2 separate regions of the Homo sapiens genome follow, and region 2 is linked to region 1. The links are contacts of gene promoters, found by promoter capture Hi-C in human tissues and cell types (Jung and others, 2019). All regions are on one chromosome and are shown on one strand. Each heading gives the region's core, a stretch centred on a gene start or on the middle of the fragment in contact. The rest is flanking DNA. Distances are from core to core; before and after follow the strand shown. Region 1 holds the start of ARMC9 (armadillo repeat containing 9). Region 2 overlaps ARMC9 (armadillo repeat containing 9).

Evidence for each region. Contacts are between HindIII fragments. The study calls those that stand out against the background at their distance.
Region 2: a contact is called between a fragment that was not itself captured here and the fragment with the promoter of ARMC9 in region 1, in 2 of the 25 tissues and cell types used here (IMR-90 fibroblasts and adrenal gland).

The regions. Positions count from the first base shown.
Region 1 is chr2:231,197,184-231,203,640 of GRCh38, reverse strand. It overlaps ARMC9 (armadillo repeat containing 9), which reads right to left and starts at 5,010. Exons shown (of 25, transcript NM_001352754.2): 1 at 4,943-5,010. RefSeq lists a silencer at 4,865-5,204. The HindIII fragment of the contact is 14,859 bases long and covers 1-6,457 here.
Region 2 is chr2:231,271,916-231,278,048 of GRCh38, reverse strand. ARMC9 (armadillo repeat containing 9) reads right to left here. Exons shown (of 25, transcript NM_001352754.2): 14 at 4,971-5,094; 15 at 1,274-1,413. Among named protein-coding and RNA genes, the nearest start is that of ARMC9, 76 kb to the right of the region's middle. The HindIII fragment of the contact is 4,844 bases long and covers 1,831-6,133 here.

The DNA of each region.
Region 1 (6,457 bases), core at 3,761-6,260:
GCTGGTCTTGAACTCCTGGGCTCAATCCTCCCTCCTCTGCCTCCCAAAGTGCTGGGATTACAGGGGTGAGCCACCACGCCCGGCTGCTGATGTCCATTTTTTAATATGCATGTTGCCTGCTCTACAGAGAAGACTGGAGGGGAGTGGGAAGAGGGAGATGAGTACTGCTCAGGCCACGCCAGCCATGAGCATCATTTGGATAAGCAAGAGGGGCCATGAGCGCTGTGAGTCCAGATGGAAAAGGCAGAAGAGGCACAATCTGCAGACCAGTTAGTTGTGGGACATGAGGGGAAGAAGGGAAGGAAGAACCCTGGGATCTGAGCAGCTGGCCGAAGAGTATGTGATTTGCTGAGTCAACGAAAACCTGGGGAAGGACTGTTTTGAGGTCAAACCAAGAGCTCTGTTTTGGCTATAAGTCTGAGCTGCCTGTTAGACATTCCAGTGGAGGTTCCGAAATGGTCAGTGGGTATTGTAAGAACCAAAGAAAGAGGAGAGAGGAGAGAAACACGAAGGGTGGCTCGACAGTCAACAGGTTTATTTCAAACCTGGGAGGGACTTCCGACCGAGTTAGGTCAGAGCCACACTCTCCTACAGACTAAGAGTTTTTAAGGATTCAGGGTGGGAGAGTTTATCAAAGGCTTGAACTGTTTCTGTGTCTCTCTGTTGTGCTTATCTGGGAGGGAGAGTTGTGTGTCTGTTCCTATACAACTTTCTGCAGCTGCAGGCATACCCCCCAAGTCTGCTTTTAGCTTCCCTTAGTGCACCTGAAGGGAACAGAATGTCCTTATTAAGGCCCACTGTTATACTGAGGCCCATTGTAAGAGGGTGAAGTTTGGCCGTTACCCAGGAAACAAACCTGTTGACTGTCAAGTCACCCTTCGTGTTTCTCTCCTCTTTCTTTAATTCTTACAGATATATGAGCCTGGAGTTTAAGGGAGAAGCAGGAACGGCATTCAGAGGGATAGCAGAGAATATGGGTGCTGAGCAAAGACACAGATTTAGTGATTAGAAGTGAAACAGGCTGGGTGCAGTGGCTCACACCTGTAATCTTGGCACTTTGGGACACCAAGGCAGGCAGATCACTTGAGCTCATGAGTTCGAGACCAGCCTGGGCAACGTGGTGAAACCTCATCTCTACAGAAATACAAAAATTAGCTGGGTGTGGTGGTGTGTGCCTGTAATCCCAGCTACTGGGGAGGATGAGACAGGAGGATCACTTGAACCAGGAAGGTCAAGGCTGTAGTGAGCCGGGATCACGCCATGGCACTCCAGCCTAGGTGACAAAGTAAGACCCTGTCTCAAAAAAAAAAAAAAAAAAAAAGTGAAACAAGAAACAAGATCAGCTGGGCACGGTGGCTCACGCCTGTAATCCCAGCACTTTGGGAGGCCAAGGCAGGCAGATCGCCTGATGCTGGGAGTTCAAGACCAGCCTGACCAGCATGGTAAAACCCCATCTCTACTAAAAATACAAAAATTAGCCGGGTGTGGTGGCAGGCACCTGTAATCCCAGCTACTCTGGAAGCTGAGGCAGGAGAATCGCTTGAACCCAGGAAGTGGAGGTTGCAATGAGCCGAGATCGTGCCATTGCACTCCATCCTGGGCAACAGAGTGAGACTCTGTCAAAAAAAAAAAAAAAAGAAAGAAAGAAAAAAGGTCATCGGCTGCAAGTAAGAAGCATGGTGACAGTTCGAAGAGAAGGGAGAGTGGGAACGGAAGGGAGGGTGGGAACCAAAGCGACTACAGCAACATGGCAGGGTTGCTGGTATTATAGTCCATTTAAGATCTCTGCACTTGAATCTAAAATGGAATCAGTCTGCACAGTTTTGCAGCTCTTCTCCAGGCACTTTCAGCTATCTGAGTTAGGTTAACCAATGTGAGAGGTTCTTCTAGAAGAGAGAGGAAAGGGAAAACAGTACAACCACGATGGGACACTGGAACTAATCAGGTTAAGAATGGGGGAGGGGAACACACATAAGGCGGCTGCAGAGCAGTGAGGAAGCAGTGGGGTCTGAGACCTGCTGAAGGAGGCACATTCCAGTGAGTGTGAAAGATGGAAAGGAGTGGGCAGAGAGTGGGACAGATGCCTGAAGGCAAGACTTTGAAGGTGACTAGTACTAAAAAGCTCCCGACCACGGGAGTGGGCAGATGAGGAGGATGGAGGAAAGAGACGCCTGCAAGTAAGGAGGATGAAGAAACTGGAGGGGCCAGGATGTGGAAACCCCCAAAAGTGAAGTAAAAGAGATGAAGGGATAGGCAGCCAGCCGGGTGCTGGAGGCTCCAAGGGAACTGGAGAGACTTGCCCTGGGAAGTGGCTACCTCAGGGAGGGCTGGCAAGGGGTATGGCATCTGCCATGTGCTTCAAAGGAGCTGGGGTTTGTGAAGGAGTGGGTAGTGATCTGGAAGCAGTAATGAGGAGCAGGGAGGACACCTCCCCATGCACCACACCAGCCCTGCCAGATGCAAAAGGGGAGAGAAGAAAGGCAGCTGCTCCTGGGGGACACCCACCTCTCCAGCCTTTTTCTGGACCATGCCTCCAATCCATCCACCTCCCCCTACCTGATCCCTCTCCTTGCTCCCTTCCACCAATCCCACACTGGACCCTGCCAACAGCGAACTCCTGGCCATTCCCCCATGCAACAAGCTCTTCCAGGATCCTAAGCCTGTGGTTGATGTATGCTCTGCCCCCCCAGGCAAACATGACTCATGATTCTAAGCCAAGCCAGATTTAATCTCTTTTCAAGAAGTCTTCCATGAAAAACCCCTCCCTTCTTTCCCTACCAAGGCTTTTTTTTTTTTTTCTTTTTCTGAGATGGAGTTTAGCTCTGTTGCCCAGGCTGGAGTGCAGTGGCGGGATCTCGGCTCACTGCAACCTCCACCTCCTGGGTTCAAGTGATTCTCCCACCTCAGCCTCCCAAGTAGCTGGGGTTATAGGCATGCGCCATGACGCCCAGCTAATTTTGTTGTTTTGAGATGGAGTTTCACTTTTGCCGCCCAGGCTGGAGTGCAAAGGTGCAATCTGGCTCACTGCAACCTCTGCCTCCCAGGTTCAAGTGATTCTCCTGCCTCAGCCTCCCAAGTATATGGGATTACAGGCGTCCGCCACCAACGCCCAGCTAATTTTTGTATTTTTAGTAGAGACAGGGTTTCACCAGGTTGGCCAGGCTGGTCTTGAACTCCTGACCTCAAGCGATTCACCCACCCAAAGTGCAGGGATTACAGGCATGAGCCACTGCACCTGGCACTTCTTATAACCCTGTTCACAAAGACAGGGAGCTGTATTTCAACTTCATATCCCCAGAACCTAACAGAGTGTCTAGTAAGCAAGAAAGGTACTCAAGGCATATAATGAATAAATGAAGCCGGAGCTGAGGGGATGTCATTTTAAAGGCCCTGGAACGGGAAAAGTGAGTTTCTGAGAATTTGAAACCTTGAGGCCAACCTCAAGGCCTTTGCGCATATTACTCTCTCCGCCTAGAACACTCTTCCCTCTCTTCACCTGGTTAACCACTGTGCCTAATAAACATCACCTCCTTAGAGTAGACCTCCCTAAGCCGTTTAAATAGTATCTGCTGTGATCAACTGTCATTGAATGTGAGTGCTGCTGGGTATCCTATTACTCAACATTCTTAGAAATTACAGAATTGGCCAGGCACAGTGGCTCACACCTGTAATCCCAACACTTTGGGAGGCTGAGGCAGGCGGATCACCTGAGGTCAGGAGTTCGAGACCAGCCTGATCAACATGGTGGAACCCCATCTCTACTAAAAATACAAAAATTAGCCGGGCGTGGTGGCGTCTGCACCTGTAATCCCAGCTACCAGGGAGGCTGAGGCAAGAGAATCGCTTGAACCCAGGAGGTGGAGGTTGCAGTGAGCCGAGATCATGCCACTCCACTCCAGCCTGAGCGACAGGGAAAGACTCCGTCTCAAAAAAAGGAAAAGAAAAAGAAATTACAGAATTTTCTCTAAACTTTTATATCATAATAGGTATCATTTATTGAAGGTATATGGTATGCCAGGCAATGTGCAAAATGTTTTACATTTAACCTTCATAGTAAACCTGACAGGTGAATATAGTTTATATTTTCCCATTCCAGATGAGGCAATTTGAGGCCCAGGAAGTCTGACACACTCCCAACAGCCACAGTAAGTGACTAAGCGGCTGAAAAGAACCACTACACAGTATTTCCCAAAGTCTGGACCACCTAAATCAGAATCAGCTGGCACGCTTGTGCAAATGAAAATTCCTGCCTCCACCCTGGTCTTACTGAACACCGTGGCAGGCACCATGCCCAGAAATCTGCCTTTTAAACAAGCTCCCTGAGTGACTTTTACACACTCTCAAGTTTGAGAACCAGTGCTCTCCTTTATGCGGAAACTAAGAAAAACTTTTCCAGTTACATTTGGGGATTGCAGCGGCAGCTTTTGAATTCCTATATAAGAAAGATTTAGGGCCCACAAACGGGTGGGATTATGGGATTTGTATGGAAGCCGAATCTGCATAGCACGCATCCTGTTTTTCCTAAGATTAGGTGAAGTCTGGACTTCAACTGGGTGCCTCAGGAACGCGGCTAGCAGATGGAGATTATCAGGGGGATCTAAATCCCGGATAACCCGCTCGCGCCGCCACCACCAGCTGGATGGCTTGAGGGACCCCCTCCAAGTATGGCCCACTGCAGCAAAGATCAGGGACTACTTGCGGGAAGCAGCTGGGCCTGTCCTTTCTTGGGATGTCCAGGCGGCCGCCTCGGCCCTTGCCGAAGAAAGATCCCTGGACCGCAGGCGAGAAGTGGTAGCATCCGGCGGCGGCGGAGCGGGCGCGTCGGGTTTTTCCTCGGAACAAGAGGTCCGCAGAGCCTCGGCCCTCCAAACGCACCGCTGCTCCTCCCAGCACCAGGACGGCGGGCGGAGGGTGGCCCGGCTGCATCCGGGGACGCGCTTACCTGCTGCTCGGCCGCGGACACTCGCGCTATCCCAGCCCGGCCGCCACCTCCGCAGCCGTCACCCGGGCAACCGCCGCCGCCACCCCGGCGTCACGTGGGGGCGGCGCAGCCAATCGCGCGGGGCGCCGCCGACGCGGAGCAGCCTGGGAGGGAAGGTGGGCGACCCCGAAACTTCCTGGCGGCGGAAGTGAGGGTCCACAGCCCAGCAGTGGTGAAGGTTCACGCGCTGGATGACCGCGTCTTCTGTGGTCCTCTCCACCACTCCACTTTCGTTCGTTCATTCATTCGTTCATTTCCCTTTCGTTGCGCCAGTCGCTGCGCCGGCTCTCGGGATGAGCCGGAGCAGGCTCAACCCCTTGTCTCAAGGAGCTCGTGGTCGCGTAGAGAACACAAACTAGGACAGTGTGGTGTCCGTGGGGAAAGAGTCAGGCATGGTTATTCCCATCTTAAAGGAGGGACCTGGGGCCACCTTAGAACCAAAAGTGACGCCCAAGATGTGCATTAAAGCTCCGGGGACCAGGGTCCCGCCCCACTGCAGCGGTTTCCAAGGATTTCAGAGAAACTTTTTGTTTTCCATGTCAAATGTGGGCTATTAAAAATAAATCAGGAGCACACGTCTTCCCTCTCTTTGCACCTGATGCTTTTGAACTGAAGTTCATCAGCACTGAATGAGCACTTGCTAGTCACCCAACTTTGTGCTGGAGGGTGAAGAGATGGCCATGGATAGAAAATCCCTCCCCTCCAGGCGTTGAGATTCCGTGGGAGTCTCTCGTTGCCACCTCAGTGTTTCCACCTCCATGCTTCCAAGAAGGAGGAGGCTACCAGGGCCAGAGACAGGGAATGGGGCACGGAGAAGGTAGGTCAGCTCGCCTTTGAAGAAGCCCTAAGATGGGCTGTGGCCACCACTTCCCCAGTCCCCAACCCTGCCAGTGGATTGTCTTCCAAAAGAAAAAAAGCTGTATTTAGTAGAAGAGAGCCCTATCTTCTGTCCAGGTAATATGGATTGAAAATAAATCTTCAATCCATGGCCATAATATTTATCGTCAACACAACTGTATGCCGGGAGATGCCAGACAAAATATAGAACACACAGTTAAATGTAAATTTTAGATAATGTTTTAGTGTAAGTAAATCCCAAAAACTGCTTCATTTTATTGTGCATGTAGGATGTTATATTGTTCTGTATTTTTGTTTGCAAAACGTGCAGCCTATATGTGTGCCCAGCATTGTGCTAAGTGAATCATATAGATTGTTTTCTTTAGTTCTCACACCAGGCCCGGCACGGTGGCTCACACCTGTAATCCCAGCACTTGGGAGGCCAAGGCAGATGGATCACCTAAGGTCACAAGTTTCAGACCAGCCTGGCCAACATGGTGAAACCTGTCTCTACTAAAAATACAAAAATTAGCTGGGCGTATTGGCATGTGCCTGTAGTCCCAGCCACTCGGGAAGCTGAGGCAGGAGAATCCTTGAACCCGGAAGATGGAGGTTTCAGTGAGCCGAGATCACGCCACT
Region 2 (6,133 bases), core at 3,003-5,502, 75 kb before region 1:
TACAGTGAAAGCACAATACATTATAGAGCAACGTTCTCCCTCCCACGCACGGACACCACCATCAGGAAGACCATATAGGCATTTTAGTAGTTATAAACATCATCATAAAAATCACTGCAAATATGGTGATGATGATGAAGAAAAGCTAATTCTAATCTGATAAACATATTAGAAGTTAGGACTTTTGGCTGGGTGCGGTGCTTTACGCCTGTAATCCCAGCACTTTGGGAGGGCGAAGTGGGTGGATCACTTGAAGTTAGGAGTTCAAGATCAGCCTTGCCAACATGGTAAAACCCCCTCCCTACTAAAAATACAAAAATTCGCCAGGTGTGGTGGTGGGCACCTGTAATCCCAGCTACTCGGGAGGCTGAGGCAGGAGAATCGCTTGAACCCGGGAGGCAGAGGTTGCACCACTGAGCCAAGATCATGCCACTGCCTCTAGCCTGGGCAATGGAGCGTGACTTCATCTCAAAAAAAAAAAAAAAAGGCTAGGACTTTTTGCATGCTATTTTTTTAAATGACTGAAATAACAGTCATTTACTCAGTCAACAACACACAGTTACATGGTTCAGTCTACAAAGTATATAGAGGGGAAGATGCTCCAACAAGTCCTCCTGAGCCAGCTGTTTACCCAGGGAGCCTTTCTCTCCTAACACTGGATGCTCAGGCTGGGGAAAGCCACAGCCTGGAGGTGGCACCTCTTCTAAAGAAGCTTCTTTCATCCCAGGTAACAATTTAAATGAGATAGTACCTGTACCTGGAAAAGCTCAAATCACTACCTTCAGCGATCAAGTATATAAATGACTGATCAAGTATATAAATGACTTGTGCCCACAGGAGAACCTCCACCTCCAGGGCTGGGGCAGGGAAAAGAGTGTGATTCAGGGCAGGAAGTGTGGTTTAGTGTCACTGCTACTGCGGCCAGCTTAATCCTATAGTATCTTGGGAACACACTTCTTTGTCTTCAGAAAAGGGGATCATATTCTTAATTTCCTACCTCTGAATAATGCAATAAAGAAAAAGGTAAATGAACTTAGTCTCCTCTTAATGCAGGCACTACATATATACAAGACATTTTTTCCAGGGCAAGAATGGATTTTGCCTTCAGGGATTCAACAGCTTGATACCTAGTTGGAAATGCTTTCTACTCCTTTTTCTGTTTTTAGTTTTCTATGAGACTAAAAGCAAACCATATCAGGCTCACTAGAAACCCAGCTTCAAGAGTCAAGATCTCTTCCCCTTCTTGCACTAGAATGAGGGTCGGGGCTGAGACCTGTGCTGCGGAGGCAGAGGTTCATGAGCAAAGCCACCGAGTACTCCAGCGTGTAGTCAGACAGGCAGTCAGGGTCCTTCAGAACATCAACCAGCCAGAAGATGAGGCCGTCTTGAATCATCGCTGTCTGCAGCGGGCGCCTGGGAAGAAAGAGCCTACGGTAAATACAAACTGCCAAGAAACTTTTCATATAAGAGGAAACAGTAGGCTGGAAGCAGTGGCTCATGCCTGTAATCCCAGCACTTTGGGAGGCCAAGGCGGACGGATCACCTGAGGTCAGGAGTTGGAGACAAGCCTGGCCAACATGGTGAAACCCCGTCTCTACTAAAAATACAAAAATTAGCCAGGCGTGGTGACGGCGCCTGTAATCCCAGCTACTTGGGAGGCTGAGGCACGAGAATTGCTTGAACCCGGGAGGCAGAGGTTGCAGTGAGCCGAGATCGTACCACTGCACTCCAGCCTGGGCGATGGAGCAAGACTCTGTCTCAAAAAAAAAAAAAAGAAGAAACAGTAATGTGAATGCATATCAGAAAAGACAAACTTACAGAAGACATAGACTCTGAGGAATATTTTTGTTAAACCCATACAATTGAAATAACAAAAATTCTTTACATTTCAGGGATATTTATTAAGGGTTTAAATAAAGATAAGGTGGTAAGGAGGCCTCCTACTTTGAAAGTTTCCTTTTCAATATTTAAAATTAGCAGAGCATTGCTTCAAATATCTAATAAATATTTATTTGTAGCTTTTGGTTTACTTAACCCAGGAAACAGGACCATAGAAATACTTCTTTGACAAATAGGTTTTTTGTTTTTTTTTCCTGAGACGGAGTTTTGCTCTTATTGCCCAGGCTGGAGTGCAATGGCACGATCTCGGCTCACCGCAACCTCCGCCTCCTGGGTTCAAGTGATTCTCTTGCCTCAGCCTCCCAAGTAGCTGGGATTACAGGCATGCGCCACCACACCCAGCTAATTTTGTATTTTTAGTAGAGCTAGGGTTTCTTCATGTTGGCCAGGCTGGTCTCGAACTCCCAACCTCAGCTGATCTGCCTGCCTCAACCTTCCAAAGTGCTGGGATTACAGGCGTGAGCCACCGTGCCCAGCTGACAAATAGATTTTTACCTAAACGCTCTATAATCCAGCTCTAGGCACTCTGAGCTGTATAAAAATAAAGAAAACAAGGAGGAGCAAAAGCCTAGCTTAACATCACTTTGATTCACATTTCTATAGAGTAAGGGTAGTTTAATGACCTGGTTAATGCAAATTATAAGGAATGATTTTCCACCCAAAGTCCAGGTGTAGAATCTTACAAAATCCAATACCCCATCAAAATGTGTGATGGTGAATGTCATCAGGTTAGCTTTAAGAATTGCTGAGACTAAGTGTGGTATCATTATGAGATGCCATCTGGATTAGTAGAAAACTGACATGCCACAGAGAAGCCAGCTCTGCACATCTCCGGATGCGCAGGTTATGGTGAAACCACCACTCAGGACAGAACAGCAGAACCAGTTATCCGTTCATCCTGTTCTTAAACACTACACTGACCCAATCAGGGTGGCTTATTAGAATACAGTGAAGACTGCGCTCTCTTGGTAACTAGCTACCTTCTTCATTTATTGCAGAGACTCTGGAAAACTGCAAAAAGGTTAAGCACATTTACAGAACAAAAAAGCTTAAATTAACACTTAGAGGAAAAGATAAACAGGCAGTAAACATTTGCATTACCAGGAGGAAGTATTTTTTTCACCATATCTTGTATCTGTTACTTAACTATAGTTATTGAATTTCTAAAAACTTCCCCAAAGCGATCAACATGGAGCAAAGTTCTCTCTATAAACAAAAAGAAATGAAGTGTTTGTATGCTCTGAGGAAGTAATGACTCTGCAGCACTTACAGTTCTTTTCGATTCATATAGTTAGAACAAAGAATTTTCATTGGCAGGGAGCTGGCAAATGGTAGATACAAATACCTATCCCTTCCCCCACTAAAAACACACATGCTTAGACCATTTCACTTTGTAGGCTTCTGGTTATTTGTGAGTCAGTCAAATGTAAACCACATTTGATGGGAAGAAAGTGTGTTCAGAAGAGGACCGACAGAAAAAAGTTGAAGACTCCAGGGACTAGAGTTCTCAAGAAAGTCAAAGAGAACTTGAGGTGATCATGAGAGAATAAAAACTCTGAAAAAATTACCATATGTCCCAACAGTTCCTCTCCTAGATGCCGATCCACGAGAAAAAGAAACATATGTCCACACGAAGACTTGTGCTGAAGCATTCATGGCAGCATTATGCATATTGGCCAAAAATGCAAACAACTCAAATGCCAATCAACTGAAGGACAAACAAAATGTGGTGTAGGCCGGGCGCGGTGGCTCACACCTGTAATCCCAGCACTTTGGGAGGCCGAGGCGGGTGGATCACAAGGTTAGGAGTTCGAGACCAGACTCACCAGCATGGTGAAACCCCATCTCTACTAAAAATACAAAAATTAGCCGGGTGTGGTGGTGTGCGCCTGTAATCCCAGCTACCCAGGAGTTTGAGGCAGGAGAATTGGTTGAACCCGGGAGGCGGAGGTTGCAGTGAGCCAAGATTGCGCCACTGCACTCCAGTCTGGGTGACAGAGTGAGACTCCATCTCAAAAACAAACAAACAATATGATGTAGCCATAATGGAGTACATATTCAGCCACAAAAGGAATGAGGCCCTGACACATGCTGCTACATGGACAAACCTTGCAAACGCGATGCTAAGTGAGAGAAGCCAGTCACAAAAGAGTGCACACTACATGATTCCATTTATATGAAACGTCCAGTACAAGTCAATCGACAGAAAGCAGATTTGTGGCTACCGGGGACTGGGGGTAGGAATGAGGAGTGACTGTAAATGGGTATGAGGTTTCTTTTTGTGGTGATGGAAATGTGCTAAACCTGGATTGTGGTGATGACTGCACAACTCTGTAAATACACTAAAAATCCTTCAATTGTATGCTTAATATGGGGGAATATTATGGTGTGTAAATACATCTCAACAAAACTGTAAACTAAAAAGGAACCTACGGGGCCGGGTGCGGTGACTCACGCCTGTAATTCCAGCACTTTGGGGGGCTGAGGTGGGCGGATCACCTGAGGTCAGGAGTTCGAGACCAGACTGGCCAACATGGTAAAATCCTGTCTCTACTAGAAATACAGAAATTAGCCTGGCCCCATTGGTTCCAAGTCATGACGGTCTAGGCTGATCCCATGGGGTGGGCTGCTGGGATCATGGACAAGGTCAGGAGGCCCTAACCCTGACTTCCACAGAACTGCCCTTGACACTCTGCTGGGATGTGCATTCATGTGTGCAGCTCCCACAGGGGACTGGAAGTAACTTGAGGGCTGAGGCTCTATCAGGTCTGATTCATGTGTCTGTCTCTAAGCCCTGCACATGCCCTGAGACACAATCCTGCATGGCTGGCACTCGATAATGTCCATTAGGAAAATCCAATGATGCTTTGAAAATGTCTTCCTCCATCCCCAGCAGCCTTGCGCAGGATAGTTTAGTGGATTACAGATAAGCTTTCTAGCTCTGTCTTAGAAAGTCATCCAACCTCTCCAAAGTGTAGTGGAAAAATACCATCTGCCTCCTGGGTTGCCATGGGAATTTTAACTCAATCTGATCTCACAGGAGACACCGTGACCTATTGCACAGTCGTTACCTGAGACTGAACTTCTGCAGGGCCCCAAGAACATTCTCCCTGGTGATGATATCCTTGTCCTCCTCCTTCAGCCTTCCCTCCAGCATCTGCAGCACCTTTGTGTTCTGGGCAAGGTAGAGGCGACCTGATAATACACCAGAGATGAAACAGGTGAAAGACAGAAATAATTTATCTGGTATGCTACAAAACCACTTTCCACGAAAACTTACTTTGCATATAACACAGTAGAGTTTGGGTAATTTTATGTTCTAAAAAACTTACTGGGCAGGGCGCGGTGGCTCACGCCTGTAATCCTAGCAGTTTGGGAAGCCAAGGCAGGCAGATCACCTGAGGCCAGGAGTTTGAGACCAGCCTGGCCAACATGGTGAAACCCCGTCTCTATTAAAAATACAAAAATTAGCTGGGTGTGGTGGCAGATGCCTGTAATCCCAGCTACTCGGGAGGCTGAGGCAGGAGAATTGCTAGACCCCAGGAGGCAGGTTGCAGTGAGCCTGAGATCGTGCCACCACACTCTAGCCTGAATGACGGAGCGAGACTCCATCTCAAAACAAACAAACAAACAAACAAACAAACAAACACTTACTGGTTGTGCAAGGTGGCTCACGCCTGTAACCCTAGCACTTTGGGAGGCTGAGGCAGGTAGACTGTTTGAGCCGAGGCGTTGGAGACCAGCCTGGGCAACAGGGCGTAACCTCATCTCTATAAAAACTAAGGAACATTAGCCAGGTATGATGATGCACACCTGTTGATCCCGCTAATTGGGGGGCTGAGGCGCGAGGAGTATTCCTTGAGCCCAGGTGGTTGAGGCTACAGTGAGCCGAGATCATGCCACTGTACTCCAGTCTGGTTGACAAAGTGAGACTCTCTCAAAAAAAAAAAAAAAAAAAAAAACCAAACACACACACACACACAAAACCCCCACAAAACTTATTAAAACTTATTAAAAGATATTTCTTCTAAACGTTAAACGTTGGTTTTATTCAATGAAATATCTGGTGACTAGAAAAACCACTCTTCTTGTGAGCTAAACATAATTCATTGCTGTGTTCTTGTGGGGAGCATTGTCCTTTTTTTTCCATGAAATCCTGAACCCAACAGTCAGATCTACAAAGAGAAATGAGGGGTAATGTGTGTGTTATGAGCCCTTAAGTCTTCACAACAGA